7 separate regions of the Homo sapiens genome follow, and regions 1, 2, 3, 4, 6 and 7 are each linked to region 5. Evidence: promoter capture Hi-C in 16 types of primary human blood cells and fetal thymus (Javierre and others, 2016). All regions are on one chromosome and are shown on one strand. Each heading gives the region's core, a stretch centred on a gene start or on the middle of the fragment in contact. The rest is flanking DNA. Distances are from core to core; before and after follow the strand shown. Region 1 overlaps ATP2B3 (ATPase plasma membrane Ca2+ transporting 3). Region 2 overlaps ATP2B3 (ATPase plasma membrane Ca2+ transporting 3). Region 3 has its middle 6.5 kb from the start of HAUS7. Region 4 overlaps HAUS7 (HAUS augmin like complex subunit 7). Region 5 holds the start of PNMA3 (PNMA family member 3). Region 6 has its middle 9.5 kb from the start of TREX2. Region 7 overlaps BGN (biglycan).

The links. Contacts are between HindIII fragments. The CHiCAGO score rates a contact against its expected background, and 5 or more counts as called.
Region 1: a fragment that was not itself captured here is called in contact with the fragment with the promoter of PNMA3 in region 5 in 10 of 17 cell types (total B cells, M1 macrophages, M0 macrophages and 7 more); the score reaches 10.7 in total B cells.
Region 2: a fragment that was not itself captured here is called in contact with the fragment with the promoter of PNMA3 in region 5 in 10 of 17 cell types (non-activated CD4 T cells, M0 macrophages, activated CD4 T cells and 7 more); the score reaches 10.2 in non-activated CD4 T cells.
Region 3: a contact is called between a fragment that was not itself captured here and the fragment with the promoter of PNMA3 in region 5, in 11 of 17 cell types (M1 macrophages, naive B cells, naive CD4 T cells and 8 more). The highest score is 11.0, in M1 macrophages.
Region 4: a contact is called between a fragment that was not itself captured here and the fragment with the promoter of PNMA3 in region 5, in 12 of 17 cell types (naive CD4 T cells, naive B cells, activated CD4 T cells and 9 more). The highest score is 11.1, in naive CD4 T cells.
Region 6: a contact is called between a fragment that was not itself captured here and the fragment with the promoter of PNMA3 in region 5, in 11 of 17 cell types (naive B cells, naive CD8 T cells, non-activated CD4 T cells and 8 more). The highest score is 11.4, in naive B cells.
Region 7: a contact is called between a fragment that was not itself captured here and the fragment with the promoter of PNMA3 in region 5, in 10 of 17 cell types (total B cells, M1 macrophages, naive B cells and 7 more). The highest score is 11.4, in total B cells.

What each region holds. Positions count from the first base shown.
Region 1 is chrX:153,524,913-153,528,545 of GRCh38, reverse strand. All of the region lies in intron 2 of ATP2B3 (ATPase plasma membrane Ca2+ transporting 3), which reads right to left. Among named protein-coding and RNA genes, the nearest start is that of ATP2B3, 9.1 kb to the right of the region's middle. The HindIII fragment of the contact is 1,210 bases long and covers 851-2,060 here.
Region 2 is chrX:153,546,550-153,549,438 of GRCh38, reverse strand. It overlaps ATP2B3 (ATPase plasma membrane Ca2+ transporting 3), which reads right to left. Exons shown (of 22, transcript NM_001001344.3): 9 at 1,440-1,604; 10 at 585-799. Among named protein-coding and RNA genes, the nearest start is that of ATP2B3, 30 kb to the right of the region's middle. The HindIII fragment of the contact is 4,010 bases long and covers 1-2,889 here.
Region 3 is chrX:153,475,468-153,478,638 of GRCh38, reverse strand. It overlaps a transcript of HAUS7 not described here. Among named protein-coding and RNA genes, the nearest start is that of HAUS7, 6.5 kb to the right of the region's middle. RefSeq lists enhancers at 928-1,428, 1,429-1,929, 2,125-2,664. The HindIII fragment of the contact is 880 bases long and covers 1,072-1,951 here.
Region 4 is chrX:153,451,560-153,455,235 of GRCh38, reverse strand. It overlaps HAUS7 (HAUS augmin like complex subunit 7), which reads left to right. Exons shown (of 10, transcript NM_001385482.1): 9 at 728-842. Among named protein-coding and RNA genes, the nearest start is that of TREX2, 7.3 kb to the right of the region's middle. The HindIII fragment of the contact is 3,762 bases long and covers 1-3,131 here.
Region 5 is chrX:153,054,171-153,057,719 of GRCh38, reverse strand. PNMA3 (PNMA family member 3) reads right to left here and starts at 1,250. Exons shown (of 2, transcript NM_013364.6): 1 at 1,082-1,250; 2 at 1-770. The coding sequence starts at 664. The HindIII fragment of the contact is 3,087 bases long and covers 1-2,823 here.
Region 6 is chrX:153,434,717-153,438,361 of GRCh38, reverse strand. No RefSeq gene overlaps it. Among named protein-coding and RNA genes, the nearest start is that of TREX2, 9.5 kb to the left of the region's middle. The HindIII fragment of the contact is 2,740 bases long and covers 495-3,234 here.
Region 7 is chrX:153,505,487-153,508,777 of GRCh38, reverse strand. BGN (biglycan) reads right to left here. Exons shown (of 8, transcript NM_001711.6): 4 at 2,702-2,915; 5 at 2,139-2,249; 6 at 1,855-1,948; 7 at 1,593-1,731; 8 at 1-530. The coding sequence ends at 333. Among named protein-coding and RNA genes, the nearest start is that of ATP2B3, 11 kb to the left of the region's middle. RefSeq lists enhancers at 1,111-1,160, 1,241-1,340. The HindIII fragment of the contact is 3,973 bases long and covers 55-3,291 here.

The sequences.
Region 1 (3,633 bases), core at 206-2,705, 470 kb before region 5:
CCCAAATCCAGCCTGGTTCTGGGAGAGCCAGGAGGCCTCCCTGAGGTCTCCAGGACCTACCAAACCCCCACTTTCCCCTGAGCTCCCTGGGGGGTGATATTGTCCTAGAAGTTCTAGCTGAGGCAGAAGGGAGATGATAGAGCCACGGATGAGAGGCAGAATGACTATCACTCTGCCAGCAGCCTCTATAGCATGGGGTGGCCCTCCCCACCAAAGAGCACATGCGGCTCAGGCACAGAGTGGTTAGAGAGCCTACTCAAGGTCACACGGCAAGCCAGAAGCAGAGGCCAACAGGACCTCAAGTGGTCTAGCTCCAGAGGATTCGACATTGCTGCTCTGCCAAGTTATACTGCCCTGAAAAGCCCAGAAAAGCAACGAGCAAGTGATTAGAACCAATGAAAAGAGTTCAGCAAAGTGACTGGACAGGAAATCTGTCCCCATCAACCTCAGGGTTCCAGAGTGCAGGTGCTGGCTTTGGTCACTCAAGCTCTCTGGGCCTTCACTTTTTAATCTGCGAAATGGTCCTCGTTCCTTTTTGCTGGGTTGGTGAGAAGGCAGGGCTCCACCTGCCCACACACCCTGAGGCTGGTCCCCAGGGGACTGGGCCCATTTTCCCGGAGGTTCCTTCAAGCCCAGGAGATCTCCAGGAAGCCGAGCAGGGCAATGCTCTTCGCTGAGTCAGCCCCTCCCGCCACACGCTCCCCTCCCGAGGCTTGTCCTGAAGTCTTCAGCTGGACTCCAGCTGGACCCCAGAGTTCACAGGTCAGGACCAAGCTCGACCGGTGAAGTCAGAACATTCCGTTCGGCCGGGGGCTGAACCCATGTGCCTCTCTGGATGCTTCCCCAAGCTTGCCCGGACTCCCGCAGTGCTCCTGTCTCCCACACAGGCGGCCCTCACAATGCTGGGTGTCCCTGGATCCCACGGGGAGGTTGGAAGCCCCTTTGTGATTGGGGCCAGAAGTCTACACTGAGGGTTGGGGGACAGTCATTTGTTTCCTGCCAGAGAAGGCAAGAGCTGCAGAAGGAGAGAGCGAGGGAGCAGGAAGCATAATGACACTAATTATCCAATTACAGCGGGTGTGCGAGCTGCATAGCAGCGTGAGCCTGGCCAGCCACTACCCTGCCCCTACGTGCTCCCCACGCCCCTCCTGCCAGCCCGGGCCTGCCCAGCAGCCCCGAAGGCAGGGACGGCATGGGGACCTAGAAACGCTGTGGCTGTGGCCAGCGTGAAAGACTCTAGCCTACAAAGGGACGGAGACCTCGTGTTTGGGGTCCAATGGGAAGCCGGGTCCCTGTCCTCCCAGCCCTTCATAGCCAGAGAGCACGTGGATGGGAGGAGAGGTGCCCCAAGTCGGCCCGGCTCTGCTGTGGTACCTCGGTGCCCGTCCCAGCCCGCTTCCAATCTCAGAGCCAGCTCTGAGGACCGGAAGCCGTCGGGGCCTAAATAGGTAATTAAGGAAATTACAGGCAGCTGGAGGCCATGGGGCTGTGGGCCCTGGGCTAAGTCCTTCCAGCTTGGACAGGCAGTGACTAAATAAGGAGCTACCAGGACACATACACGTGTCCTCCTAGGGAACGAGTCCCATGGGGCCCCATTAGGAATCCTGGCAGGGGCAGTAGAGAGGGCATCCTGGTTTCTGGAAGCAGGCCAAAGTCCTTGGGAGTACAGGCTGGGGGGATGCATTGGTGTCAAGGTCAGAGGCCAATAAAAGGATCTGGGAGGCAGACCTCCAAATGGGGGCTCCAACTGAAGATGGGAGTCAAGCCTGCCCTTCTGTGATCTAGACCCAAGGAACGAGCACACCGAAGTATCCGTGCCACTCTCCCCAGCTGAGGGGGCAGGATGCCTGCTGCCAAATGTGGTGATGGAGGAAGAGCCAGTGGCGAGGATGCCCAGAGAGAGGGTACCTCAGAAGCTGCAGCCGAGGCTGCAGGACGCGAAGGTCATCAAGGGCTTGGCTGCTGTCTGAATCGCGTGAACTGAGCATTGCTGGTTCATTTTTGAATTTTGCCTAAGACACTATTTCTGAGCGAGGAACCCGGCATACGAGCCCAAAGCTTTTCCAGCAAAGCCCAGAGGAAGCACCACCAAGTTCCTGCCGTGCTCCAGGAGTGCCTGAAGGGAGTGCAGAGGCAGAGGCCCCCTCTCAGGCCGGGACCCAACACCAACACAGGGCTCCGAGTCTCTCCCTCAGTGCGCCCCACAGCCCATCAGCTCCCCCTACCCTCCCACCACCAGCTGCTCCTCCAGTTCCTGACCCTCTTATCATCATCTGTCATCAGCACCATTCCTCCCGCCCCCTCTGTGCTCATGGACAGATGCCTGCTCTCCCCACTGGGAAGGCACCGGGAGAGCACAGCTGGGCTGGGGACAGGACCTGAAGGGGTGGATTTCTGCTCTGTGTGCTCACCCCCTCCCCTCCTCCCTTAGGGGAGACCCCAACCCTGCCCGTCTCCATCTCAGATACCCCCTCCCACGATTGTGCTATAGCCCAGCTTCCTCCTTCGGGGAAGGGTGGATGGGGCGCAGAGGGCCAGGCGGTGGCCTGGGAGCCCTGACCCACCCCATCCCACCTACAGACACAGCCACGAGTGCCTCCCTAGGGGCTACCAGGGCAGGCGTCTGGGGCAGTGGCCCCCAGGTCAGCGCATTCTTACCCTCTGGCCCCATGGATGGGTTACAAGGGGGGACTCTTGCTCCACTCCCCAGGACAGAGGTTTCCAAGCCTAGCTGCTGGTCACAGTGTTGTGGGCAGATGAACCACAGGCCAGGAGGGAGAGATGAGACTAGGTGGGAGACGTGCCCTACCCGTCCACAGCCCTCCCTCTTCTCCTGCACCAGACGTGGGACCATCTGCTGGCAGCCGCCCTCTGACTACAGGAAGGTACCCAGAGACCCCAGGAGCCAGAGGAGCCAGGACCAGCTGCTCCTGAGCCCATCTCTCCTGGGCCTGTGGCTCCAAGCCAAGATGTGGCAGTGTCTGGTCCTGGATGCTTCCAGGAGAAATGGAGCTGAGGCCCATGGTGGGGGGCGGAATGGACCCTTGTGCCTGGTGAGCCCTTGCTCTGCCCGAGAATTGGGGCTGGACACACTCTCCTGCTCCTGCTGCTCTTTGAGGGAGCCAAGCGGTTACTGCCGGGCTGGTCCAACCTGGAGAAAGGGCCCCTTCCCATTTGGTCACGCCCTGTGCCACCATCACACCCCTGGCCCGCAATCTGTGGGAATGTAGGTTCAGTTTCGAACCGGCCACTCCATGCGCCTTAACCCGGTTCAGGGTTTGATTTGAAACGCCGGAGTGCAGGGAATTCTGAGTGTCAGGACAGTGATTTCCAAAAGAGCAGCAGAAAGGCCTAAGTCCTGTCATTTGAGGTCATCTTCTGCCGGCCCACAGTGGCTTCCCAATCTCCCGCGCTCTCTTGTACTGCCGGCTTTGTTTTCGTGTTTCTCAGTCAGGAGGCTGTGGCGTTCCCAGGGCCGTCTGGCTATCCTCAGCTGGGGGCCTTCACTCAGGATGGCGCTGTACTGCCCACACCCGCCTCCCATCTGCGGAGAGTCAAATCCACAGCATCTGCACAGAGCCAGCCGCCACCCCACCCCATGGGGACCGGACTCATCTGCGGCTTCGGAACTCT
Region 2 (2,889 bases), core at 26-2,525, 490 kb before region 5:
GAGATGTCAACACAAACATCGCGTGACTCTGTTCTGCTCAGCTAGCTCCACGTGTGGCACTAAGCCCACTGGGCACCTGGTCAGCCCTGAGCCAATAGCGAGGCTGTAAGGCATCAGCAACCTCATCCAATGGTGGGGGCGGGATGCGCACCCGGGACCTCCCCTGCCCGAGCCCCCTCTCAGTTACCCACCAGCCCTGCAGCTCTCCCACCCCACCACCCCACCACCCCACCACCCCACACCTGGCTCCCCCCACCTCCTCCCACTGCCTCCCAGTGTCCCGGGCCCTCTGCTGATTCTCCGCTTCCCCGCTGCCTCCCAGCCCCTCCGTCCTACTGCCCACATTGTGCAGATGCTGAACCCCTGGGTATCTCACCGCCTGCCTGCTTTCTGGCCCATCTCATGCCGAGGGACCTGAGCTGACAGATCAGCAAAGCTGCCCCCTGGGTCCCTGCTCGGCACCTCCTCTCCTCCCTTGAGCTATCCCAAACGTCCCCAGTTTATACTGCCACCAAGGCGCCCAATGACTTCTTACCCCAGTTTCCGAGTCTGTAAACAGTATCAACTGTAAGTTTTATGATTACCTTGACAGAGTAAGCTAAGGAGATGGTGACAGCAAGAGGCAGGCCCTCTGGGACAGCCACGACCAGCACAGTGACACCAATGATGAAGAACTTCACGAAGTATTGTACATAGACCGGCGTGCACTCTGCCAGCCATGTCCGGCCTTCCACGACAAACGTCTCAATCACAAAGTAGAGGACCAGGATGATGACGGTGATGGCAGACATCACCAGCCCTGCCACAGAGCGGGGAGGAGACGAAAGGGGTTGCCACGGGTGAGGGAAGGAGGGGGACAGGAAGAGGGAAGAAGAGGTATGGACACGGTCTCGGAGGCATTTGTGAAGGCCTTGTAGATTTGCCTTGCGTTTCAGGATAAACAGCCCAGGTTTGGCTCAGCAGGTGAGCTGGGGCCTGTTTGCAAGGGGGCTCTGTGTGGCCTCTTCTGGAGTGCTGCTGGGGTTGGGGAGTGGACTTTGTGGTCTGATGGCAGGAGAAGCACCGCTGGGGAGGACTAGCAAGAGTCAATCCCCCACTGCACCCCAGAAGTTGGGGTACCAGCCCTGCATGCCCCCAGCTGCCTTTTGAGGGTGCCAGGGGCAGAGCCTGGAGCCTTGGGTAGGGGCACCTCATGGGCAGTGGCTCAGTGTGTGACCCGGGCTTTCGTCGAGGGTTTGGGACTTCTGCTCACTAGGGAAGGGCTGCGCCAGGCCCTGATGGCCACTGCCGGCCTGGCCTGTGCCCTTGCCTGCCTGGCCCACACATCACCTGCCACATCCCTTCCCACCTGCTCTACACAGCCTGGGCTCATCTCCAGGAGCCCAGCATCCTCCACGCCCAGTCAATGGCCTGGGCCCACCACCTCCTGCTGTCCCTACCTGCTTTCCCGATCTGCACGGCTAGCTTTGTGAGCTTCCCCTGAAGGACAGACTTCTCCTTTTTGGGTGCGTTGGCTTTCTTCTTCTCCCGCTCCTCCATCTCCCCACCCTCCGCGCTCTTCAGGGGCTGCATCTCCATGGCCACTGCACCATCCTGCTTCTTAGCTGCACACAGAGGAACCCCATGGCCAAGGTCAGTGCCTGGCTGGGGAGAAGGCGTTATAAGGGGCTTTTGTGGGGGAAAGACATGCCACACCATAGAGAGGAGACGGGATTCAGTGGAGCTCTCCTATTTCCAAGTCTATCAGCTTCCCTTCTCTCGCCTCCTAAGCCCAGGCCCTCTTGGGGTGGGTGGGGTGGCTCCAGCACTGTTCTAGGTGGGACAGAGATGGTTCTCTCGGGAGAAGGGAGGACAGACACAGCACAAGGCTTTTGGGCACACAGACAGGGTGACTGGTCCTGGAATGCCCCAAATAATACCTGAGAGCAGAGGCCTGTGGCCCGAGGAATCTTCCAGAACCCTGAGCTGACTCATCTGCTTACTGGTGTCCGAGCCACCTCCTACCTCCCTTAGGGAGGCCCAGAAGCCCCATGCACTCTCCTCCCACCAGCCAGCCCTGCGCCTGTTCGGGCTCCATCTGTCCCTCCAGCACCCTCCCTGCCTCTCCCCTGGAGCAGACGGCTCCTCTCCCTTCTTCCCTGGTGGGTCCTGTGCTCCTCATCCTTGCTGCCCTCGACATGGTGGTGGTGTGTCCCCCACTCCGGCTCCCTCCTCTCCCCACTCCTCTGCTTCTGTCACTTCCTCATCTCCCTCCCTGCCAAGCTCTGGCCGCACCCACTCCACGGCCCAGAGTAATCCTGGCCACCCCACCTCCCTCTTCTGCCCCGGGACCGACGCAGCGACCTGGGGAGAGCAGACTCGTCTTTCTCCCTCACTACTCTGGTCCCCGATCCACTGGGGCTCTTGGCACTACCGCCATCACCTCTGCCTCCTCCTGCTCCTCCTCACTTGCCAGCCCAAGGCCATTCGCCACGGCTCCTCTTCCCAGTGGCGTCAGGACACAATTGCCCCACCCAGCTGGGCCCCTCCAGCTTTGTGCCCCACCTGCTGCCACCTCCTCAACCCAGGGCTGCAGCCATCGGGCTGTCCCCCCACTGCCCTCCCAAACCCAGCTCCGCACAGGGCGTTGCCTGGGTCATCTCTGCCTGTGACCTTCCTGAGGGTCAGGACCTGCCTTGTTCCCCATGGACTCCAGCACCTAGAGCTGGCTGCTGCATTGGCCGACATCTCCTGTCCTCCGTGGGCCACGGCTGGCCTCCTCCCCGCTCCTCCCACCCCTTCTCCTGCTTCCTGCGTCTCACAGCCAGGCTCATGCTGGCCCCAGGGTGTCGGCACCTGCCAGCTGTCCGGGGCTGAGAGGAGAGCCGGGCCTCTGGCCCTCAGCCGACC
Region 3 (3,171 bases), core at 262-2,761, 420 kb before region 5:
CAGGTCTCTACCTTCTCCTCTGTAAAATGGGGTAGGGGGCAGAGTTGACGTTCTGTGGCTGTCCCGACCCCCTACATAGGAGCATGGGTGTTCCAGGCACTGCCTGGGTGAAGCCATGTCACAGGTCCCCCCCAGACTTCTTGGCCAACAGTCTGGGATCTCTGATGTGCCTAGGCTGCACGCATCCTTTTGGTCAGAGGGGCACCTGTGGGTCAGGATGACATGAGGTGGAAAATAGGCTGGGCTCGATGAGGGGACTGCTGGGTGGGGCCAGAGGGGCGTGTGGTGGAGTGAGGGGCAAATAAGGGGGTGTCTGGCTCCAGTTCCTAGAGCCCGCCACCCTCAGAGGGCTGCCGGAAGTCCCTGCTCCAACTGGGGTGTCCCTGCAGCCCCAACCCCGCGTTCTGCTGTGGGAGCCAGGGTTTGTGGGAGCAGGCAGGCGGGGGCTGGCAGAGAGGACTGATCTCACCGCTGGCTCGGCTCTTCAGGGCCAGTATTGAGGAAGCTTTTCCTACAGCCCTGTCCAGCGTTGACTTAGGTTTGGAAGCGATCTTAAGAAATGAGTTAATTGTGGGCAAGGCTTGGGTGGAGGGGAGAAGGGAAGCAGTGGAGGAGGGGCAGGGGCCGGCAAGGGCCATCAGGCAGGAGTCTCCATCCTGGGGCAATGAGGCAATGTGTGAGATCCAGAGGGGTGCAGGGCTGGTCAAGGTGGGGAGGAGGCCTGGCAACTGGGTCTTCACTGGGCTCCTTGAGGAGCTGCCGCTCCAGCTAACAGTCCCGTAGGAGCCACATGGGGTCCTCTGCTATATCCAGGGTACCCTCGCCATCCAGGGCTCTGGTTTCTGACCTGAATTTGGACCCTGCCACGTACAGACCAGAAACAGGGACCATCTAGGGAGTCAGCAAATGCCTCTGGAGTCAGGGATGAGGCCACCATCTCCTTGTGCGTCCTGTGGGTGACACAGGATGGCTGTGGGCCAGTGTCCTGCCTGGGGGCAGCTGCCGAAGCTGGGACAGGGTAGCACTGGGGCACGGCAGACTTGAAGTATGCTGCCAAGACTAAGTGAAGCTTGCCCCAGGATCCTGCAAGACAGAGCACAGTCGACCCCCCATTTTACAGAGAAGGAACAGAGAAGGAGTGGGGCTCACCCAAGTCTCGATACCAGAGGCCAGTCCTCCTGCCTCCTGGTCCAGGCATCGCCTGAGAAACGGGGTAGGTCCCTGCCTGAGCTGAGCCTAGCACCTGGGGTCGGGAGACTGGACGGTGATGGGAACCCCGGCTCCGCCCCTCCCCCTGCCTGGGGATGGATTCTGGAATCCTGGCCCCCTACCCATTTCCCCTGTTTGCGCCGCTCCCCAGGCGCTGACTAAACATCCTGCCATCTGGTTCCCATTAGCTGGGCTGGGGGTGGGGGAAGCCTGCTCCCAGGTTTCTCTGGCACAGCCAGCCTGGAGGAGGGAGGGACTCCGCTCCTACCCACCTAGGCAGGAAGGGGTGAGGCCTGGGGTGCTCTCAGTTCCCAGCTCCCATGGAGGCCTGGCCTCGCTGCCCTTCCCCTGGTCGGGAGCCTGGTGGCTGACCTGGGTGGGCCCCTGGGGAGTGGTACTCCTGCTGCCCACTCTGTCCAGTCCCAGGGCACCCGGCCATTGTGGGGACCTTGAAGGAACCCCCATGGAGCAGAGCCAGCCTTCAGGGGCTCAGCAGAGCCAGAGGCTCCCGGCAAGTTTCTGCCTTGCCCTCCCCCCCGCCCAAGAGCTCACTGACGGACTTGTGCTGAGACAGGCAGGCCCCAAGCCAACAGTAATCCCGAGCCCGGTGTCTGGAGCAGAGGGTGGGAGGGCTGTTGGGATTTTCCAGGAACCAGGGATGCAGCCCGAGGGTTGCTGGAAAGAGCTTTGGGCTCCCAGTTCTGCCATGGACGGACTGGCCATGTGACATCAGGAACAAGCTTCCCTCCCTCCTCAGTGCCCCAGTCTTCTCATTTCAGTATGGTGGAAACAGGCTCCTTAGAAAGTTCTAGAATCTGAGAGCCAGAAGGCGCCTAGAGAAGCTGGATTACATGATCAAGGTCGCTTCTAGTTGTACAATCCCAGGATTCTAAGGTCAAGGAAGGGACTCCTGTCCCTTGTCCTCCTCCCCCTTCCCTTCCATGTAGCCCACTCTTCACACACTCATGCACACACATACCCTCTACAAGCTGGGACTCAGATTGGTAGCCTGGAGGATGCCAAAGCAATGCTGTTTGTCCCTCAAGGCTGTCATCAACGAGGACTGGACAGTGGATTCTTTGCTCACTGACAGGGGATCAGGTGAGGACCGTGAGAAAGTGACATTTGGGCAGAGGCATGAGTGAAGAGGCCATGGCCATGCAAAAAGCCACAGAAAGAGCCCTCCGAAAAAGAGGGATGGCCAGTGCAGAGGCCCCAGGTGAGAAAGGGTTGGGCCCAATTTGAGCATTGGCAATGACAGCAATGTGGTGGAGCAGGCTGAGTGAGCCGTGGGAAGGTGTCTGTGGCGGTGGGCTGGCTTGCCTTTGTCCTTGAAAGAATCAGGGAGCCACCTTGGACTGCTAAGCAGAGGAGTCACAGGATCCGGCCCCCCTCAGGCTGTGGGGTGGAGCACGAGCAGATGTACTGGGGGCATAAGGGTAGGAGGTGGGAGCCACCGTGTGGCAGCTGAGCCCGCCAGGGGCCAGGTGATAGTGGCTGGCCAAGGGTGGAGGCGGGGTTGCGAGGAGGAGCGGGTGGGGTCAGGAGCATTTGGGCCTCAGGGTCAAGGTCTGGGGGCTGTTCCTGCTCTCCTGCTCTCCTGCTCTCTGCAGGAGCACCTACTACGTGCCTGTCCTTTTCCCAGGGCCCAGGGCAGCCAGAGACACAGCCTTGGGGTGACCCCCAGAGAAAAGGAACAGGCCCATTCTTGAGCTTTCCACATGTTGTCTGAGTGAAAACGACAGCAGTGTGTGGCACATGGGTGGCATTCTCTGGGGACATGCGCCTGCAGCTATCTTATATGTCAGTAACAATATGGGGCCTTTCCCCCTTAAAGCTTGGAGAAGAAAAAAGCCCCATTTTCCATGCCCTCTTCCTGTTGCCCGCAACTCTTCCCTAGAGGAAACCCATCTTATTTTAATGCTACTGAAACCTCAGAGGATCTGGTCCCAATTAAATGAC
Region 4 (3,676 bases), core at 1-2,500, 400 kb before region 5:
GTTGGCCGCACTGTTGTCACGTTACGCTCCAAAATAGCAAGGTCCATTCATTCTTGTGGATGACCAAGAACTGTGCCAGACAGGCAGACAAATGCCTGCCTGTCTGCCCATGAGCCTGCTCAGACAGGATGAGAGGAAGTGGGCTCGTCAATGTTTGCTTGTTTCGTTGTTCCACATGTGAGATCCCCAGAGGCCAACCTAAAAAGCCGGCTTTAGTTACGATGACTACAGTTCCCACGTGCGCAACTCTGCCCTTGGCTCAAGGATTCCGTGATGTTCATTTTGGTTTTCTAAGCGAGAGGCTCCGAGCCTTCCAACCTCTGACTGGCTGGTCCTGTGAGACCCCTCGATCAGGGATGGTGAGGCCACAGCCCTCTCCTGTCCATTTTTCTTGGGACATTTATTTTCCCCCCTTGCCAATTGCTGGGGCTGGGAGGACACGCAGTGCTGGCTGGCATGTCCCTAGGCATCGAGGGTTGCCAGAGCGACATGAGAGTGTGGCATCCCCACTGGGCCAGGAAGAGGGGACTTAGGTCCGAGAACTCTGATTGGTGACTTCCCCGCTGGGAGTTCTGTCCCTCACCCTTGGCTGTCTTTCAGGTGAATGCCACCTGATCAGTGTGAGTGGGGGTGGGAAGCAGGAGATGCCGTCGCTACGTGAGACCAGCGGCATTTAGTGCCTGCTCGCTCCCTCCCTCCCTCCCTCCCTCCCTCCCTCCCTCCCCAGCTGCTGCAAGTGGTCATGGCAGTTGCTGACACCTCTGCGAAGGCCGTGGAGACCGTGAAGAAGCAGCAAGGCGAGCAGATCTGCTGGGGTGGCAGCAGCTCCGTCATGAGTCTAGGTACGTGGCTGCCCACCTGGCCCTCTGCCTGGGGCTGCCCCACGCACAGGCTTCCTTTTCTGTGCTCCACTAGCCCTGGAGGAGCATTTGGGGACCGGCCCCTTCTTTTGTTTTTCATTTTCTAATGCATGTTTTCCTTCACTTGAAAAAATGCTTTCAGCGGATTATCAAATGAAAACGCTCATCGTAGAAAATTGAGATAACTCAGTAATAGAAAATGTGAAGCAAATGATAACAAATGCCTGAATGGAATAGTATTTGACAATTAAAAATGTAACTTGGGCCAGGCGCGGTGGCTCATGCCTGTAATCCCAGCACTTTGGGAAGCAGAGGAGGATGAACCACTTTGAGCATAGAGATCAGCCTGGGCAACATGGCAAAACCACGTTTCTACTAAAATACAGAAACTAGCTGGGCATGGTGGCGTGCACCTGCAGTCTCAGCTACTTGGGAGGCTGAGGTGGGAGGATCACTTGAGCCCATGAGAGGGAAGTTGCAGTGAGCTGAGGTCACGCCACAGTACTCCAGCCTGGGTGACAGCCAGACCCTGTCTTAAAAAAAAAAAAAAAAAAGTTACTTAAGGAAAATGGGAAAAGGCTTATAATGAGGGCCATCTTCTCAGAGTTGATTTTTGCATATGGAGTGAGGTGGGGATCCAGTTTCCTCGTATCCTATATGGATACACATTTGTCGCAGCACCATTGACTGGAAATCACTCTTTCTCTCATTGATCTGCAATACCATCACTCTTGGTAATTATTAAGTATCCATATGTTATGTGTGGGTTTCTGGGTTCTCCTCTGTTCCATTCTATTCCTTTTTTTTTTTGCTATCCCTGCACTAATACCACGTTTCAGGGGGCTAGAAAATAAACAGCAAAATAAACCCAAAGAAAGAAGGTAAAGCCAGTTTTCTACCTCTTCTAATTTATTTTTTAAATAACAGCTCTACTGAATTCAAGTTCATATAACATAAAATTTACCCTTTTAAAAGTGTACAATTTCATGGTCTTTAGGATATTCACAGAGTTGTGTAACCATCCTCTTATCACTATCTGAGTCCAGAACATTTTTATCACCCCCAGAAGAAACCCCATATGATTAGCAGCCATTCCCCATCCCTCCCTAGCCTCAACTCCTGGCAACCACTGTCATAGAGACGCTGTCTGTCTCTATGGATTTGCCTGTGCTGGACATTTCCTATAAATGGAATAACAATGTGTGGCCTTTTGTGACTGGTGTCTTTCACTGAGCATAAAGTTTTGTAAGGGTTATCCATGTAGTTCATTCCTTTTCATGGTTGAATAATATTTGATTGTGTGGATATCCCACATTTTGTTGTAGTTGGTAGATGTGGGTTTCTACTTTTTGGCTATGTACATCGTAAGTCTTTTGTGTGAACGTATTTTTCTTTTTCTTTTTGAGATGGAGTCTCGCTCTGTCACCCAGGCTGGAGTGCAGTCTCAGCTCACTGCAACCTCCACCTCCTGGGTTGAAGCAATTCTGCCTCAGCCTCCCGGGTAGCTGGGGTTACAGGCACTCACCACCACGCCTGACTAATTTTTGTATTTTTAAGTACAGATGGGGTTTTGCCATGTTGGCCGGGCTGGTCTCGAACTGCTGACCTCAGGTGATCCACCTGTCTCGGCCTCCCAAAGTACTGGGATTATAGGTATGAGCCACCGCGCCCAGCCTCTTTAACTCTGTTTTTTAAAGTTATTTTTTAAGTGGTTGGCTTTAGAATTACAGTTAGCATCCTAACTGAAAACAGTCTAGTACCAAATGAATTTCAATAGTATACAGAAACTGCCTCCTATTAAAGCAAAATGTATTTGTGGGTACACCATTTTAATTCCCTTGTTGGTTCTTTAACACTTCTTTTAAAAGTTATTTTTAAGTGGTTGTCCTTAGAATTGCATTTAGCATCCTAACTGAAAACAGTGTATTACCAAACTAATTTCAGTTGTATACAAAAACTTTGCCCATTAGAATGAAGCTGTATTAAATGTGTACATTGGTACACATTTTTATATTTATCGATGTTGTTACCTTTGTTGGAGTTCTTTATTTCTTCATGTGGATTTGTGTTACTGTCTAGTGTCCTTCCATGCCATCCCGGAGGCCTACCCTTAGTATTTCCTGTAGGGAAGGCTCACTAGTGATGAACTCCCTCATTTTTTATGTGGGAATGTCTTCATTTCTCCTTCATCTTTGAAGGATAGTTTTGCTGAATATAGAATTCTTTTGTACTTTGAATGTGTCATTTCAGTGTCCTCTGGCTGCCAAAGCTTCTGATGCGAAGCCAGCTGGTATATGATGAGTCTCTTCACTTTCTTTTCAAAATTCTGTTGGTCCCTGGCTTTGGACAGTTTGATTATAATCTGTCTTCGTGTGAATCACTGTGAATTTATTCCATTGGGAGCTTTTTGAGCTTTGTAAATGTGTCGTCATTCATGTTTTTCATCAACACTCAGCCAGGTAGTTGACAGCTCTTTCTCCTTCACATCTTGCTTGCTCAGAGCCTCAAGGTCAGCCAGAGGTGAGAGATCAGGGCCTTCTCAGGTCTCTCTCTCTGGGATTTTCACAGCCCGGCACACACCCATGGTCTTCCAGATTCCCAGGACTGTGCCAGAGCTTTCCAGAGCCTTTGTGGACATCTGATTTTCCAGCCTCTCCTGAGCTTCTTGTTTAGTCTCTTGTTTGCCCCGGCTATTATGCACTGCCTCAGGCAGCAGCAGCTAAAGCATTTGCTGTAAATGTTTTCCACTGTTGCACCCCCAAGTAGTGGTTTCAGGTCCATAGCCTCTGAGCCCTAGTTTTGGAGACTGTCTTTGG
Region 5 (3,549 bases), core at 1-2,500:
CCCGGAGCCCACTGACCACCTGGAGAGCAGGGCCCCGTAAGCATTCCATCAGCCTCCGCCTCTTTTCCCCCTCGGGCACCTGCCACATCTGTAGCATCTCAGTGGTGTGCTCAAGCCAGGCATCAAAGGCCAGTGCACCTGGGATGGATATGGTGTTCCCAGAAAACACTCTTAGTTCTCGGTACAACATTTGTTCTAGCAGAGGCTGCACTGCTGCCCCCAGAGTCTGGGCCCAGGTCCAGAACTCTGGTGATATAGTCACTCTTGGAGCCGAACAATTGGTGTCCGACCCGAGGACTCGGTTCATATCTGACACGGTCCGCCTCTCCTCCTCTAAGAAGCGGTTCAGTCTGTTGAGAAATTCCCCATCTGAGTTACGGGGTTTTACAATCACTTCCCAGGGCCCCCCCTTTCCTGGTATTTCCCTTGGGAGCAAAGCATAGTCGATATCTTGTGCCAGCTCCAGTAGAATCGCCTGGGCGTTCTCCTCCCTCCTAAACATCCTGCCAATCACCCTGTATCTGCCCAGGTGCCTGCAAGCCTCCTGGAGTGTCTCCTCAAACTCATCCTCGCCACAGTCCTCGGGGATCCCCAGGATGAGCATGCACCTCCGGGTGTTCAGGTGTTCCCCCCGACACCAGTCCTGTAACAAGGTCAACGGCATGTCCTCGAATCTCTGCGGATACTAATTTGGGGGGAGTGATCAGGGCGTGAGGCACATATCTGGATCAACTCCTAGGGTGATCGCAGAAGGCCCAGGTCTCCACAGCCTGTGAATGCGAGCAGGGCGAGAGCGAGGTTAATGCCCACCTCTCCGCACGCCCACATCCACGCCCACCCCCACCCCCACCCCCAGCCGCCCTCCTCCCCGGGCGGCGCCTCTGCAGCCAGGCCCCGCCCCTGCCCAGCCCCCCACCCCCACCCCCCGTGGGGTCTCTGCGGGCCTCAGCCCCCTCCCCGCGCTGCCCCAGGACCCTGGACCCCTGCCCTGCAGGCTGCTTCAGTTCTGATAGGGCGGACAGGCGAGGGGCGGCGGAGTCTCCCGGGGCCCAGCGTCTCCCTCCCCAGGTGGGTCTGTTACCTTCTCCCAGGGCAAGGTCCCTTCTGGTCGGGGTCCCCAGAGGGCTCTCCGGGGGCTATGCGCGGCGGCGGCGGCGGCGGCGGACGGGGGTCGGGCACCCCTGGCTCCCAGCGCGGACGTTCGCTCAGACTGTGGCTCTCCCTCGCTCGCGCAGCACGTGGGCCAGTGCGCCGGCGCCTGCTCGCCGCGGCTCTCTGCAGTGCGGACACGGGGCGGGGGCGCGGCGGCGGTGCAGCGCGGACCCCTCCGCGTCGTCCGGGAGACCGCAGGGCCATTGGCGCGGACGGGTCACGAGGTCGGGCTCTCGCCGCCGCCCCTGGGGGCCCCAGGTCCCCGGGTGACGTCACCTGCTCCTCTCCCCTAGCCCCCCCGCCACGGGGGCCCCCGGGCCCCCGGGCACACAAGCGCCCGCCCACCCCCATCCCCACTGCGGTGGCCAAAGGTCTGTGGCGGCCAGTCCCCGTGCCTTTGGCTCTCACCACAGCGGTTCCTGGTCCCGGCTCCTGCCCCTCCCGCACGTGCCACGGAGGTGCCAGCGGGGCGAGGGGTCTGCACCCCGGCGTGCCCACCAGAGGGCCAGGGAGTGGTCTGAGGTGCGCCAGGCAGCTCTGCATTATGGCCAGGGTCAGGGAGCCGGGTTCTGGGGCCTGTTCACCTGCTCTTGTCCTCCCCCTCCCCGTCCAGGACTGGTCCTCTGGCTGGCGAGGCCAGGGGCACCTGGTGCGGGTGCCATTCCGTGCAGGAGATGCCCCAGGCACTCATGCAGGTCACGCACACCACCCCAAGGAGGGTCAGCCATCTCCCCGCTGTCCATCCCGCTGCTGGGACCTGAGGCCCTCCGGCCAAAGCGCTTCGCTGCCCAGGTGCCAGTGGACAGGTTTACCGGGACCTTTCCGGTTTTGTGCGCTGCAAATCTAGTGACTTGGGAAACCACTTCCAGGACTTGGAGCCCAATCCCTTGGGCCTGCCCTTCCTTGGCAGCCGTGCGCCGTGGGTTCTATTGTATCCGTTTGATCCCAGGGCAGCAGCCAAATGAAGAAGGGAGTGACTGTCCCTCAGGCAGTGGGCCCAGGTGTTCTGTGGGTCCTGCCTGCTCTGCCAGCCGCATGCTCAACTCCTATTCACACAGCTTCAGCTCCTCTCCAAACACAACGAAAAGGGGCTTGTGGTTGATTTTCAGGCCAGGTTCACCCATCCAGCCAAGTCTGGGAGGCCACCTTGCAGTGAGTGGGGCACAAAACTGTCCACTGACTTCCTGCCCCACCCTGAGTTCTGCTCGTCAGCCTGGCACTTGTCAGGGACCAAGAAGAAATGGCCCCAAGGGCTTTTTCCTGGTCAGACAGAATTCCTGAAACATCTTTACAGGAGTTATTTCATTTGCTCCTCACCAGAACTCTGAAGCAGGTATTAACATTATCCTGATTTGACTCATGAGGCTCAGAGAGATTAAGAGACATTTTCAAGGTCACACACCGTATTGAAGGTAGAATTGAGACTGGATTCTAAATTAGTGCCCATCAGTCTTTGGGTAGAATTGGGACTATTTCTCCCCTGGTTGCTTCATGCCTATTAGAATTTATTTCTCTCATTTTTGTCCATTCACAGTCCCTTGCTTTGTCACTCCAAGGGCTCAACCAGCTTCAAACTGAACCTTCATCTGCCCAACTTGCAGGGGTGGAAACAGAGGTTCAGAGAAGGGACACTACTGGCCCAAGGTCACACAGTGAGTAAATGACAAAGCTTGAGATGTCAAGGGGAGATGCCAAGTATTCATGCCAAGGCAGAGGGGCGTGTCTGGAATGTCTCCGGAAAGAAGCCTGTGAAGTTCCCAGACAGACGCAGTGATCTGTGGATGTTCTGGGCATTGGGAAAAAAGGATTTGGAAACACTGGTATCAAGACAATAGATGTGAATATGTCCAATTTGAAAAGTTTTAGAACTCCTTTATATTGGAGTTAACCTTTGCCCTTGAAACCAGTGGAAATGTCTTAATTACTTTTGCTTCCCCATCTCCTTGCATGGTAGATAACACAGCAGCACCAAAGTTGGGGAACTGATGGATAAACATTATTACTTGTAAAGTGAAAAACATAATACAGCATGAAGGAAGCAACCTCCACCGGGGTGGCCTTGCCCTGGCTTAGACCAGTAGTGACTATCGGGGTCACAAAAGGGGCAGATTCATGGGCCCCACCTCTGCAATCTGATCTGCTGAGTCTGAAACAGGCCTGGGAATTTTTTAAAGAGTTTCTGGTAATTAAATACTTTATAAAATACATTCTGCAATATTTAACATACAAAACGTACTTAAAAAGTACATCCAGTACTCCTGAATGTAGTAACTGGATGAAGACATAAAACACTGCCAGTGAGGGTAAGCGCCTGCAGATTCCTTCCCTGTTGTCTCCCACTCTTGTCCTCCATGTGCATTTCTTCGTGCTTTTTCTGCAAATGACTATATCCCTAAA
Region 6 (3,645 bases), core at 615-3,114, 380 kb before region 5:
CCAAAGCTACAGATAGTTTTTAGAGGTAATTATATGTTTAAAGGGAAGTGTCCAATCTTTTTTTTTTTTTTTTTGAGATGAAGTTTCGCTCTGGTCACCCAGGCTGGAATGCAATGGCACGATCTTGGCTCACCACAACCTCCGCCTCCTGGGTTCAAGCGATTCTCTTGCCTCAGCCTCCCGAGTAACTGGGATTACAGGCGCATGCCACCATGCCCAGCTAATTTTTGTATATTTAGTAGAGACAGGGTTTTGCCATGTTAGCCAGGCCGGTCTCGAACTCCTGACCTCAGGTGATCTGCCCGCTTTGGCCTCCCAAAATGCTGGGATTACAGGTGTGAGCCACCATGCCCAGCTGAATCTTTTAAAACTTTGATTTATTAGTATCTTTTGAGTGATTCGGGTATTTTAAATTAAAGTGTGTATTCAATCTGTACCCTAAACATTATGGCCAGTGATGCGTTTGGTGTTGAAATTGTATCTATCAATAAGCTTGACACTTTATTATCGCTAAATGCAGATTTTACTGTGTCCTATAGGTTTGCTATTAAACATTCTTCTTTGCTTTGCTTTAGGAATAGCTTGTAATTTTGCTTTCCATTCCCTTCTTGATCTCATGCTTATATACTGCAGTTTATCTTAATTTCTGAGTAATTATGATTTCATGATCTTTTTTTTTTTTTTTTTTTTTTGAGACAGGGTCTCATTGTCACCCAGGTTGGAATGCACTGTCGCAATCTTGGCTCACTGCAACTTCCGCCTCCCGGGCTCAAACTATCTTTCCACCTCATTCTCCCAAATAGCTGGGACTACAGGCATGCGCCACCACAGCCTGCCAATTTTTGTATTTATTGTATAGATGGGGTTTTGCCATGTTTCCCTCTGGTCTCGAACTCCTGAGCTCAAGTGATCAACCCTCCTCGGCCTCCCAAAGGGCTGGGATTACAGGCATGAGCTACCACACCCAGCCAGTCATGTTTTGTTGTGTATTTTAGTTGTATTGGATAATAATCTGAGGATGTGTTGCTTAAAATATCACCTTTTCGAATTAAGGTAGTTTGGGGGCTGCTTGAGTTCTCTAGGGATGCCATAGCAAAGTTCCATAAACTAGGGGGCTTCGACAGCAGAAATGGACTGTTTCTCGGATCTGGAGGCCAGAAGTCAGAGATCGAGGTGTTGGCAGGGCAAGGTTCCCCCTGGGGGCCGTGAGGGAGAATCTATTCCAGGCTCTCCCCCAGCTTCCGGGACTTTGCTGGCCATCTTTGGTGTTCCTTGATTTGTGGCAGCCTCTCCCCAATCTCTGCCTTCATCTTCACACAGCCCTCTTTCTCCCTGCATACAAGGCGCTGTGTCCACATTTCTTCTTTTTATAATGACACAGTCATATTGGATTACAGCCCACCCTAATGACCTCATTTTAACTTGATTACCTCTGTGAAGATCCCCAAATAAGGCTCCATTCTGAGGTACTGGGGGTTTGGGCTGTAATATATCTTTTTTTAGGGGGAGGAGGGAGGCAGACACAATTCAATGGATAACAGAGGCCGAATACATAAATAACTGTAAAATATGTTATAGACTCTGAAAAATGCACCTGCTTCAGAGATGCAGGCTTTTCTATATATCTCTAAAATCTAGTTGACAATTGTACTATTCAATTTCCTTTACATTTTTACTTGTTTTTTTTTTTGTTGACTATATCTGTCTGATTTAATGACAATATATTAGAACATTCCATTGTAATTGCATTTTCTTGAAGTCTTCCTTCATGTCTAGTCATTTTTCTTTATGCATTTAGTTGCTGTGTGTTTGTGCTTACTGCATTACAACTGTATTAATACACACACATATATATATACACACGCTCTAACACACATATACTCATGACACATATATACTGACAAATACTTGATACATATTATAGCCAGGCACTGTGGTTCATGCCTGTAATCCCAGCACTTTGGGAGGCTGAGGCAGGCAGAACATTTGAGGCTAGGAGTTCGAGACCAGCCTGGTCAACATGGTGAAACCCTGTCTCTACTAAATGCAACAAAAATTAGCCGGGTGTGGTGGTGAGCCTGGCCAACAGAGCAAGGCTCGGTCTCAAAAAAGAAAAAAAAAATCCCAAAAAACCACACCAAAAATACACATTATATCCACACCATGTATATGATATATATCATATCGTGTGTGTGTGTTTGTGTGTGTGTAGAGAGAGAGAGATTTTAAGGAATCAGCTCACGTGACATGGAGGTTGGCAAGTCACTGGACACTCAGGGAAGAGTTGTTTGAGTCCAAAGGCTCGAGTTGGAGGCAGAATTCCTTCCTCTTTGGGTGACCTCAGTCATTTTCTCTTAATCCCTTCAACTGATTGGATGAGGCCCACCCACAGCATGGAGAACAATCTGCTGTACTTAGTCTTCTCATTTAAATACTAATTTTATTTAAAAACACCCTCACAGCCACATCTAGACTGGTGTTTGACCAAAACTGGGTACTGTAGACTGGCCAGGTTGATGCATAAACTTTACCTTCCCAGTCACTATAGCACGGTCTGGTCTTTGTTCTCTGGAATTTTCTTCGTGCGTAACACCCACGAATCTGTACTTGATCCTTACAGCCAGCCCAGCCAGCCCCTCTGTCATCACTTATTTCAATTGAGCGCATACTTTGTGAGGTGGCTGCCCACCGCCCCTTCCTCTCTGAGGCCTCTGTTCTGTTGCAGGGGTTGTTTGGTCTTGCAGCTTTGCAGTGAGCAGATGTTTGCAGAATGTAACCGACTCAAGTCTGGCTGCTTGCTGTTTGGAGGCCAGAATACAAGAAGCGAGGTGTGGTGAAAGGAAAGCCGTTTTTGTTTTTTGTTTTTTTTTGGCAGAATCTTGTTCTGTCACTCAGGCTGGAGTGCAGTAGCACAATCTCGGCTCACTGCAACCTCCGCCTCCTGGGTTCAGGTGATTCTCCTTCCTCAGCCTCCTGAGTAGCTGGGATCATAGGCTCGCACTACCATGCCTGGCTAATTTTTGTATTTTTTGTAGAGACAGGGTTTCGCCATGTTGGATAGGCTGGCCTCAAACTCCTGACCTCAAATGATCCACCCAACTTGGCCTCCCAAAGTGCTGTGATTACAGGCGTGAGCCACCACTCCTGGCCGAAAGCAGCTTTTACTCGAGTGCTAGCAGGTGGGAGAATGGCCGGGCTGGCCAGGCTCAAGCCTCAGAGGAACCATCTCAAGCTTTATGTGGGCGAGAGGAGTAAAAGGGAGCTTGGAATGGGAGACATGCAGGCGGGGCACTGGGCACAAGGTCTGTGTGCCTTGTTCCCTTGGCTATCTTGAGTCATGGTCCACTGGGAGCACGGGCTGGCATCATCTCTACGATGGCTGGGTTGTAGACTGACCGCCTGGAATTTCACAGCTAGATTTCCATGCTTGGTTTGTCTCAAGATTAGCGCCCTGGAACTACTAAGTAAGCACAAAATTAGGTGAGTGAGCAGTGCAAGGGAGTGTCTGGTGGGAAGGGAGGGAAACAAGGAGTTTCAAAGTACATTAAGGCTGAAAGCAAGAAAGGAAAGACGAAGTTTCAAAATGCATTTGTTTTTTGTTTTTTTGAGACAGAGTCTCGCTCAGTCGCCCAGGCTGGAGTGCAG
Region 7 (3,291 bases), core at 792-3,291, 450 kb before region 5:
TCCTAGGACTGGAGCCTTGGACACTTGGGTTTGGGAGTGAACGAGAAAAAAGCTTCATGGGGTGCCTCTGGGTGGCTGTGGTGGGAGAGCAGGGGCAGCTCTGAGGCCAAGGGAACATGTGATGGGGGCCGGGCCTTGCGCCCACCTGCACCCTTGGGAGCCAGGGAGAGGCGGTGATGGGGCATCGAGCTGGGGTCAGGGACCCGAGGTGGGGGGCTGGGTTGGACGCAGCTGGGCCCTGGCTTAGCTTCCTGGCTCTGCCTCCCCATCAGGATGTCTGGCTGTGTTCCCCAGAGACCCCCACTGAGGCCCCGCGGTGGCTGCAGCTGCCTCTACTTTTTGTAGTTGCCAAACTGGATGGCCAGGCGGTCAGTGACGCAGCGGAAAGTGGCCGGCTGCACCTCCCAGTAGGGCACGGGGTTGTTGAAGAGGCTGATGCCGTTGTAGTAGGCCCGCTTCACCCCGAAGCCCATGGGACAGAAGTCGTTGACACCCACTTTGGTGATGTTGTTGGAGTGCAGATAGACCACCTGAAGGCAGAGAGGCCGGGTCACGGCAGGCCTCCCTCCCTCCACGCCAAGCCCGCTGCCTCCAGGAGGCATTTTGCTGTTGCCTCTGCACCCTACTTCAAGGGCCACACCAGAGGCTCCCCGTTGTTGGGAGGAGCAAACCAAGGCATGGGCGTGTTATTTGTGTGGGTGTCAGCCAGGATTAAGGCACTGGATGTGACCAGGGACAAGGATGAGGGTCTCAGGTGGGTCAGGTTGAGGACATGTGGGGGCGGGGCTGGGGTAGAGGTGTGTTTGGTGGTGTGAGGTGGAGGAAAGGTGGCCTGAGCCTCGGGGGAGCACCCTCACACTCCATGGGGCATGAGAGGAGAAAGAGCCCTTGGGATGCCCTCCTCTTTCTTCCAGTCAGCAGAGGAGCTCGCCCTCTAGCAGCCCCTCCAACTCTCTGGAGCCACCGTCTTGCTGTCTCTGGGAGGAGCGGAGGTGGGCAGGCGAGGCGCCTGCTGGGTTGGGCTGGGAGCCCAGTGCTGGTGAACATGACAATGGCCACTAGAGGGCGCACTCGGCCCAGCATGGGCATGGCCTGCGCGGTGCTGGCTCGCAGCTGGTGCGGATGGGGGTGCTCCAAACACTTGTGGATGGAGCAGGGCTGGGCAAGACCAAGATCACCCACCTGGTTGCGGGCCAGGCCAGGGATGGAAGCTCCCGATAGAATCCCAGGCAAGACCCTGCTCCCCCTCGTCAGCCTACTTCCTGCCCTGGGCGGTCACTGTCTTGGCACAGATCTGTGCACTCCCACGCCCACAGTTTCTCGACTCCCTGGACTCTGCCACATCTTTCTGGTGTCCGACCCACCTGGAGACCCTCGGGTCCAAGAGCTACCAGGCTGCCTTGCTCGGTATCCACCATGGAGCCCCTGCTCCCTGCCTCCTCAGCACCAGCTGGGAGCATCAGGACCGCTCCCTTGCAGATGCCCAGAGCCGGTCGGGAAGGAGGGCCAGGGGACTGAGGGACTGCCCGGGGACACACACGCCTCCCCCAGCCCAGCCTTAGGGAACCTGGCTGTGCATGCCCAGCTCTCACCTGGAGGAGCTTGAGGTCTGGGAGCCCTGAGGGCACCCTGGCCAACTTGTTGTTGTCCAAGTGGAGCTCCCGGAGGGTGGGCAGGAAGCTCAGGCTCCCGTTCTCGATCATCCTGATCTGGTTGTGGCCTAGGCCCAGCCTGTGAGCGGGAGAATGACACGGACTCAAAGGCTGGAGGTAAGGATGGGGGGCTGGGCGCGAGGGGCCACACAGCACTGAGGGACTCTGGCATCACCCTTGGGCGGTGCCCTGCTGGCCTCACCTGTACAGCTTGGAGTAGCGAAGCAGGTCCTCCAGTTCGATGGCCTGGATTTTGTTGTGGTCTAGGTGGAGTTCATTCAGGGTCTCAGGGAGGTCTGCCAGGAGAAGAGGGCACAGGGGAGAATGCAGGTGCTGAGGGCAGGGGCCCTAGCTCTGCCCCAGGTGGCGGGAGGGGACTGTTGAGCCTTTCCCTGAGTAGATCGGGCCCATCCAGAGCCCCCACCCTGGCCATCTGTGCTGTTGGGGGTGAGGCAGGCAGGCGTGCAGGAAGAGTGGGCTTCCTACCTTTGGGGATGCCAGTCAGCTTGGCCTCTGAGATGCGCAGGTAGTTGAGCTTCAGGCCATCGAAGGCTCCAGGTTCAAAGCCACTGTTCTCCAGTGGGTTCCCGCCCATCTCTAGGGGAGAGACCTCATTAGCCCGGGAGCCTGGTGGTCCCTGCACAGCCCTGGGTCCTGTCACTTCCGGGCCAGTGTGGTGGGCCCTGCTACCTGCCGGCTGCTCCCGTCTCCTGAAAGCAGTTCTGCTAATTTACCGGGCTAATTGCAAACTCCTAGCTGTTCAGGACTGCTAGCCCCAGGACTGCTAGCTCCAGGGGCAGCAAGAGGAAAGGGAGGAGTGCCAGAGATGAAGATGGGGCTCCCGGAAGCCACCCGGCCCCTCTGGCCCAGTCTTCTCTTTAGCCGTGGTGATCGCCTGCATGGAGGATTTGCCAAGAAATCCATGGATTTTCTTTTGACCGTTCTCACCATACTCTTTCTTGAACTGAGCCTCTAAAGGTATCCCTTGGTCTCCCTTCCCCATGCCTCGAGACAAGGCTCTGGAATGTTCTGGGAGGCCCTCAGCTCACCGATGCAGTTCATGTTCCGGAGCCCGCTGAACACTCCCTTGGGCACCTTGCGGATGCGGTTGTCGTGGATGCGGAGCTCCACCAGGGAGCTGGGTAGGTTGGGCGGGATCTCCACCAGGTGGTTCTTGGAGATGTAGAGCTTCTGCAGCTTCCGCAGTGGGCTGAAGGCCTTCTCATGGATCTTGGAGATCTTGTTGTTCACCAGGACGAGGGCCTGAAGCAGGGTGGGCGGAGGAGGTGAAGGCACAGACTCCCCACCCCACCCGCCCCTCTCTCCTGCCTTCCTGTGCCTCCCCAGCCCACTGGGCCTCGAGGAGGTTCAGTCCATGCTTGTGAGCAGAGTGCAGGGCAGGAGGCAGCACCCAGGCCCGGTCCTGAGCCCCAGCAGTGCCACCACTGCCTTGCCGCTCCAAGCCTCAGTTTCCTCACACGCACACTGGCTACAATGAAATCCGTTCTCCTCTGTTGCTGGGAGGAGTGGACGTGATGAAACGTTTTCAGCCACGAAGGGAGCCGAACTGAGCGATCCGGTCCTGCAGCTGTGGTTGCTCAAACCCACATGAGTGAGCCGCAAACCCGGGAGCTCCCAT